3 separate regions of the Homo sapiens genome follow, and all the other regions are linked to region 1. The links are contacts of gene promoters, found by promoter capture Hi-C in human tissues and cell types (Jung and others, 2019). All regions are on one chromosome and are shown on one strand. Each heading gives the region's core, a stretch centred on a gene start or on the middle of the fragment in contact. The rest is flanking DNA. Distances are from core to core; before and after follow the strand shown.

What was found. The method cuts DNA at HindIII sites, captures the fragments that hold promoters and counts their contacts. A contact is called where the count stands out against the background at its distance.
Region 2: a fragment that was not itself captured here is called in contact with the fragment with the promoter of ZKSCAN7 in region 1 in 1 of the 25 tissues and cell types used here (H1 embryonic stem cells).
Region 3: a contact is called between a fragment that was not itself captured here and the fragment with the promoter of ZKSCAN7 in region 1, in 1 of the 25 tissues and cell types used here (spleen).

The regions. Positions count from the first base shown.
Region 1 is chr3:44,553,887-44,556,514 of GRCh38, forward strand. It overlaps ZKSCAN7 (zinc finger with KRAB and SCAN domains 7), which reads left to right and starts at 1,307. Exons shown (of 6, transcript NM_001288590.2): 1 at 1,307-1,595. RefSeq lists silencers at 1,061-1,110, 1,221-1,360. The HindIII fragment of the contact is 4,885 bases long and covers 1-2,628 here.
Region 2 is chr3:44,342,958-44,345,585 of GRCh38, forward strand. All of the region lies in intron 1 of TCAIM (T cell activation inhibitor, mitochondrial), which reads left to right. Among named protein-coding and RNA genes, the nearest start is that of TCAIM, 5.5 kb to the left of the region's middle. The HindIII fragment of the contact is 6,194 bases long and covers 1-2,628 here.
Region 3 is chr3:44,688,133-44,690,760 of GRCh38, forward strand. No RefSeq gene overlaps it. Among named protein-coding and RNA genes, the nearest start is that of ZKSCAN7-AS1, 3.8 kb to the left of the region's middle. The HindIII fragment of the contact is 6,943 bases long and covers 1-2,628 here.

The sequences.
Region 1 (2,628 bases), core at 57-2,556:
ATAATAGGAAGCCAGGACTGCAGGACAACACGTGGTCAAGGAGACCTGAAAATCAGGTCTGAGAGCATTTAGCCTGGCCTTGGGAGATTTCCTCCTCAAGAATCCTAAGCTTCTGGGGCCTTGATTTGCCTTCCACCTCAAGAATCCTAAGCTTCTGAGGCCTTGATTTGCCAGTAGGCAATGTCTAGCATCAATGTCAGGCAGAGGCTGGGGTTCCTGGTTTTAAATAGCCAAAACCTCCTTGTGAGATTTCCAAATGGAGAGGGGGACCTTGATGACAGGAAACCACCATTAGGATCAATGGACAAAGATTGCTCCAAGAGATTACTTTTAAGCTTGTGGAAACTCTGGAGCAGGACTTCTGGTGTCTTTGTTTCTATCTTGGCTCACACAGATATATGAGGAACATATGTCAGGGCCAGGGTTAGGCCCAGGGCACCTTTGAAATATTGCCATCCCTAGACAGTCCAGGAGACTGTTTACTTTGGGCCCTGTAAAGGACCTATCTCCTGTGCTATAATAAAGATACACAGTTAACTTCATCACACCCTTTGCCCTTCACCCGTGGTCATTAACACACAGGGCCTGCTCAACCATGTTTGTAACAAGGACCAGTTCATATCCTCCTTCTGTATGCAAACCATTCTTCAAAGTGAAAGTCACCTGGGTACCACCTGCCACCCAGAGGCTAGACAACTGCCTACTAGGTTACAAACTGTCCCCACACCTTCTCAGTTTATCTGCTTCTTGGTCTCCCTAGGAACCTCTACATGGACACCAGAATGCTGGTGCTGTCTTACGAAATATTAACCACATTTATGGGCCAAAATATCACAATTTCTAGACATGCTTCTTCATTTTTAAGATGGGAGATGCTTGCTGCTCCCTTCACTGAGACTTCAGATTGGGCATCACACATGGTATAACTGACTGCTCAGGATATGCCAGGCCTTTTGCTATGTAGTGTCTGTTAACCTCATGCGGTGCTCCCAGCCCTGTGAGGTACGCATTATGCTCTGCATTTTTTTCAGATGAGAAAACAGGCTTGGAGGTTGGGTATCTTTCCCAAGGACACCTGGAGGAGAAGGTGTAGAGCTGGGACGCGTCTGGATCCCCCGACTATGGCCTGAGAGCGGGATGTGAGTGGCCTGGGCCCTCGCGAGACCCCGACCCCGCCCGCGGCAGGTGGCCGGGCACAGCCGAGAAGTAAGCCCTGCCAGCTCTCCCGGGTGCGGGGACGCGCGCGCCCACCTTCGCAAACGAGACTTCCGGGATCCCGGAGGGGGCGGAAGTCGAGGCCTCTCTCGCTTCCGGCTCGGCCATTGTTTTTGGTCTAACGGGCAGTAGAGTGTCCGGCTTCGGTGCCGAGTGCCACCGCGAGTGGGCCGAGACGCGGAGGGAGGCGCGGCCGGAGCTCGGGTCGCCGACGCTGGCCAGGACCGCGCTTCTTCCCGGCGGCAGGCGGCGCGGTCCCCGTGACTCTCAGAAGCCGCCCGATGTAGAGCCGCTTCTTTGTCTCATACCCCTGACCATTCGTGCGTGGCACGGAGCCGGGTATCTGCGGGTACAGCGATGAACAGGGCAGACGTGGCCAGGTGAGCGGCGCTGCTGAAGCCTGGTTTAACACGAAAGGTAGATCGCTGTTTTCCCAGCTCTTGCAGTAGGAAACTGTATGAACTGTCATATTTGGGTCAGACCCAGGCTCAGAATCGCAAACGTGGAGCGTGACTTGGAAATGCAAAAATCCAATTGAGATTTTAAAGTGCTGAGCATTCGGAACACTATGGGAAGCAGGAGAATGGCCTGAACTTTCTACATATATGGGATCTTAGAGCAGAGTTTACAGATTATTTTAAAGTCCTTCTTTGTCTTTTTAAAGAGATTGAGACACAGGGATCTGGGCTCTTGGTGAACTGGAAGCACAGCACAGATGCCCTAGTTACCAGTAAGGTGCTGATTTTAAAACGTTCAAAGTTTTCCTCCACTTCAGTGTCAGCTAAATGTATCATATTCATTCATTTCCCAATTATGTGTGCCATGTGCACACGTGTACAAAGATGACTGGAAGTCAGCTCTGCCCTTTGTATCCTCCCAGAAAGCAGGGGAGACAGTCGTGTAAACCACAAACGATTACAGTGTGAGATGTGCTCTACTAGAGGTTTGAATGAAAAAGGTAGTTTGGGATCACTGAGACAATAACCACCTCTCTAAGCCTAGCGTGATCAGGAAGGCTTTCTAGGGGAGGTGCATTGAGTAAAAAAAGGTCTAGTATTTTCTGATTCCATTTGGTTCCTTTCCTTTGGTGGCCGTGCAGCAGTTTGGAGGGTGAGAGTGGTGAGTTGTGCATAAACCAGTTAAAGGGTTATAGTGAGAGGTACACAAAGGGAAGCTACCAGCACTCTTCCTGATGGGGCAATCAGGAAAACCAAGAAAAAGTTGCCTTTGTTCATGGTCTTGACAGACAAGTTTGCCAAAAGTTGAAGAAGAAAAATTCAAAGAAAGAGTATGTGTGGCTTCTAAGTGTGTCTCTAGAGCTTTAGCTCCAAACTTTCTTTATTTTGCATTTCTATCAGTAGAAGAGGTTTGATCACTTACTCCCTACATTGGTTTATTTGTAATTTAAACATG
Region 2 (2,628 bases), core at 94-2,593, 210 kb before region 1:
GAAACTCCATCTCTACTAAAAATACAAAAATTCGCTGGGTGCGGTGGCAGGCGACTGTAATCCCAGCTACTCGGGAAGCTGAGGCACGAGAATCGCTTGAACCTGGGAGGCAGAGGTCGCAGTGAGCCGAGATCATGCCACTGCACTATAGCGCAGGTGACAGAGCGAGACTCTGTCTCAAAAAAAAAAAAGAAGAAATGTTTTGGTGTTACAACAGACTTTTCTTAACCATCTATGTTATTTAAGAGATGAGGAAACAGACTCCAGAAGGTAACGTAACTTGCCCTTGCTCACACAGTCACTGAAGATGTCAAGATTTGAATACAAATCTCAAGCCCCCTAGCCTCCATTTCCTAACCATTATGCAAACTACCTACTTTGACAGTCACATTCACTGGAAGTGTTTAGATCAGCACAATCCAATAAAAATAGAATGTAAGCCTTGGATATAATTTAAAATTTTCTAAAAACTAGATGTTTTACTTTTTAAAAAGTAAAAGTGAAATTAATTTTAATAAATTATAATTTCAACACATAACCAATATGAAAAATTATTACTGAGATACTTTCCATTGTTTGTACTGAATCTTTTAAATCCAGTGGGTATGTTAAGCTTAACACATCTCTATTTAGACTAACCACATTTCAAGTGCACAGTAGCTACATGTGGCTAGTGGCTGCCTACTGTTTTAGACAGCAGAGGCCTAGATTGTAATTCTATTACTCTACTGAAATGTAAACCTTTTTAGGAAATAGCTTGCTCACAAAATAAGCAGATAGAAAACACCTAATTCTCAACCTGTCATTTTTTTAGTGCTCTCTTTCTAAATCTGGAAACCATGATTTAATGTTTAGATTTGTATTTGGTAACATTTTATTTTTGTTGAGAAAATCTATTGTCACATTTCTAAGCACTAATGTCCTTTATTAGTCATTTCTCAGTAGTAGTTTAGTTATACTCTGTGATTACAAAGCGATTAGTGGATGAATGTATTTTTCTGGATAACTAAAGACCTTGAACTTTACACAAATTTTATTTTGCTTTGATTATTTTTGATGGAAATGCTTTTTTTTTTTTTTTTTTGAGAGAGTCTCACTCCATCACCCCGGTTGGAGTGCAGTGGTGCAATCTCAGCTCACTGCAAACTCCACCTCCCAGGCTCAAGGCCTCAGCCTCCCAAGTAGCTGGAATTACAGGCGTGTGTCACCACACTCAGCTAATTTTTGTATTTTTAGCAGAGATGGGGTTTTGCCATGTTGGCCAGGCTGGTCTTGAACTCCTGCCCATTTTCACCTCCCAAAGTGCTATGATTACAGGGATGAGCCACCATACCGAGCCTCAGAAATGCTTCTGAAATGCTTCTGAAATGTGCTACATAATTCCATCTTACACACAACATACTTTATCCTCCATGATTAAAAGTCATTAAGGATACTATCTTAGTCTTCAGCTGCTGTGTCAAACTATCATAAACCAGATAGCTTAAAAACAACAGAAATATATTTCTTGCGGTTCTGGAGTCTGGGAAATTCAACATCAAGATGTCTGCAGATTTGTTGTCTTGCTATAACTTCACATGGTAGGGGGCAAGATAGCCCTCTGGGGCTTTTTTCTTTTTCCTTTTTTGTAATTTTCCTTTTTTCTGATAGTTTTGATCAGAGGACAGGACTTTTTATAAGGGCACTAATGACCTTATTACTGTCACACGCGTCCGTGTGAAGAGACCACCAAACAGGCTTGGAGAGAGCAATGAAGCTTTTTATTCACCTGGGTGCAGGCGGGCTGAGTCCAAAAAGAGAGCAGAGGGAGTTAGGGGTGGGGTAGTTTTATAGGATTTGGGTAGGTAGTGGGGAAGATTACAGTCAAAGGGGATTGTTCTCTTGCGGGCAGGGGCGGGGGTCACAAGGTGCTCAGTCGGGGAGCTTCTGAGCCAGGAGAAGGAATTCAATTCACAAGGTATTGTCATCAGTTAAAGCAGGAACCGGCCATTTTCACTTCTTTTGTGATTCTTCAGTTACTTCAGGCCATCTGGATGTATACGTTCAGGCTTGGGCTCAGAGGCCTGACATTCCTGTCTTCTTACATTAATAAGAAAAATAAAATAGTGGTAAAGTGTTGGGGCCCTGAAAATTTTTGGGGGTGGTATGGAAAGATAATGGGCGACGTTTCTCAGGGCTGCTTCGAGCAGGATTGGGGCGGCGTGGGAACCTAGAGTGGGAGAGATTAAGCTGAAGGAAGATTCTGTGGTAAGAGGTGATATTGTGGGGTTGTTAGAAGGAGCATTTGTTGTATAGAATGATTGGTGATGGCCTGGATACGGTTTTGTATGAATTGAGAAACTAAACAGAAGACGCAAGGTCCAAATAAGAGAAGGAGAAAAACAGGTATTAAAGGACTTAAGAATTGGGAGGACCCAGGACATCCAACTAGAGAGTGCCCAAGGGGGTTCAGCATAATTACTTGCTTGGTTGGCAAGTTTTTGGGCTCTATCTTTGAGTTTTTTTATGTTGTCATATACCAGGCCAGATTGATTTAGGTAAAAACAACACTCTTCGTTTAATATACAGAGTCCCCTTTTTTTTTAGCAGTGACTAACGAGTCCTCCACGATTTTGGAGGAAAGAGAAA
Region 3 (2,628 bases), core at 95-2,594, 130 kb after region 1:
GAGTTTCTAATTTTATGGGTGTTTCTTTAATTATGGGGTGGAATAATCATTCAGTATTTTGGAAAAGAAAGGGATTTCAGAGACTCCTCCCAGCCCCCTATTCCCCCCATTACCACCCCCTTTCTCCCTTATTTGGGTTTGCCAAGAAGAGTCATGGACATGTCAGCCTGACCAGGGTTTTGGCCATTTTCTCTCCCTTATTTTGAGTTTTCTGTTATCCTGTGGTTTCTTTGCCTAGTTCTTATTTTAACTGTTGTTCAGGTTTTTCCATACTCCTGTGACTACCCAGTGCTACTCCTGTCTCACAGGTCCAGGAGAAGATGGGTGTCCCAGCTCCAGGAGAGAGAGAGTGAATTCACCTCTCTCTTTTTGTTCTACCTGGGCTCTCAGCCCTTTGGATGGTGCCCACCCATGTTGTGTGAGGGCACATTTTCCTTACTCAGAACACAGATTCAAATGCCAATCTCTTCCAGGAACACTCTCACAGACATACATCCAAAATAGTGCTTTACCAGTTATCTGGGTATTCCTTAACCCAGTCAAGTTGACACCTAAAATTAACCATCACATGTTCTTATAATAAGGAGGGGTTGTTCTACATCTCATTACTGGCTCAGGCCGAAGATAGGTCAAAACTTAAGGACCTAGGGGAGGGAGAGGAGCTTAACTAAAGCTTGGTCAAGTTAAATTAGCAGGTATGCTGTCCAAATTGGTCATGGGTACAAACAGTTCAGTTAATCACTTGTAAAGCAAATCATCTGGAGGGTCTGTGTCTAGACAAACAAGGGGGTGGGGCTATCTGTGAGTCTCATCTAAGTCATATGGGGAAGGATGGCTCTTTGCAGGAAGTCATTTCCTAGAACACTAAAGGGTGTGGGGATTTTTAATTGTCACTGTTTTCCAGGAGAGCAGACTCAGGTAAAGTTTAACATTTTCAGACTCTTGGGGAAAATTAGGTTATCTATTCTTCGTTGGCTGAGATAGGATTCATGAAACACTATCATAAAATATGGCACCTTGCCATTTGAGAAAACAGCAGAAGCAAGATGGTCTCTCTGACCTTCTCCCATGATTCTCCCCTGAAGCAGGCCATAAAACATTCCCTTGGCGGGTGCAGTGGCTCACACCTGTAATCCCAGCACTTCGGAAGGCCGAGGCAGGTGAATCACGAGGTCAGGAGTTCGAGACCAGCCTGGCCAATATGGTGAAACCCTGTCTCTACTAAAAATACAAAAAAAAAATGAGCTGGGTATGGTGGTGCGCGCCTGTAGTCCTGCTACTTGGGAGGCTGAGGCAGAAGAATCTTGAACCTGGGAGGCAGAGGTTGCAGTGAGCCAAGATCACACCACTGCACTCCAGCCTGGGCAACAGAGTGAGACTCTGTCTCAAAAAGAAACAAACAAACAAACAAAAAACCAAAAAAAAAACCTTCCCTTAAAAGGCTGGGCATGGTGGCTTTCTCACACCTGTAATCCCAGCATGATGGGAGGCCAAGGTGGATGGATCACCTGAGGTCAGGAGTTTGAGACCAGACTGGCCAACATGGCAAAACCCTGTCTCTACTAAGAATACAAAAATTAGCCAGATGTGGTGGCGTGCACCTGTAATCCCAGCTACTCAGGAGGCTGAGGCCGAGAATCTCCTGAACCCAGGAGGCGGAGGTTACAGTGAGCCAAGATCATACCATTGCACTCTAGCCTGGGCAATAAGAGTGAAACTCTATCTTGAAAATAGTAATAATAATAATAATATCCTTTCTTGCAAAATATAGTAATTAAAAAATTAATCCTACATCACAAACCCTTGTAGCAGACAGAGCACATCTCCCCATATATATGATCATTGCACCTAGGGTGGACACTTTCTTCCTCTTACTTTCAGGGACACCCTACTTTGTCTATGGTGTAGCTGTACTTTCACTACTTTCACACCAGCTCACCAGCAATGGATCCAAACCAAGACAAAATCTGTGAATTGCCAGAAAAAGAATTCAGACAGTCAACTATTAAGCCAACCAAGCAGGCATCAGAGAAAGATGAGGTCCAACTTAAAAAAAATTTTTTAAATGATACAGTATATGAAGGGGAAACTCTCCAGTGAAATAGGTAGCATAAATAAAAATTACAACTTCTGGAAATCAAGGACACATTTAGAGAATTGGAAATGCACTGGAAAGTCTCAGCAATAGACTCAAACAAGAAGGAAAAGAATATCAGAGCTCAAAGACAAGCCTTTCAAATTAACCCAGTTCATCAAAGACCAAGAAAAGAGAATTTTAAAAAATGAACAAAACTTCTAAGAAATTTGGGATTATGTAAAATGACCAAACCTATGAATAATTGTTGTTCCCAAGGAAGACAAGAAATCTAAAATCTTGGAAAACATATTAGAGGTAATAATTGAGAAAAACTTCCCTGGTCTTGCTAGAGATCTAGACATCCAAATACAAGAAGCTCAAAGAACACCTGGGAAATTCATTGCAAAAAGATCATTGCCTAGGCACACACTCATCAGGTTATCTAAAGTCAAGACTAAGGAAAGAATCTTAAGAGCTGTGAGACAAAAACATCAGGAACCTATAAAGGAAACCCTATCAGATTAACAGCAGATTTCTGAGCAGAAACCCTA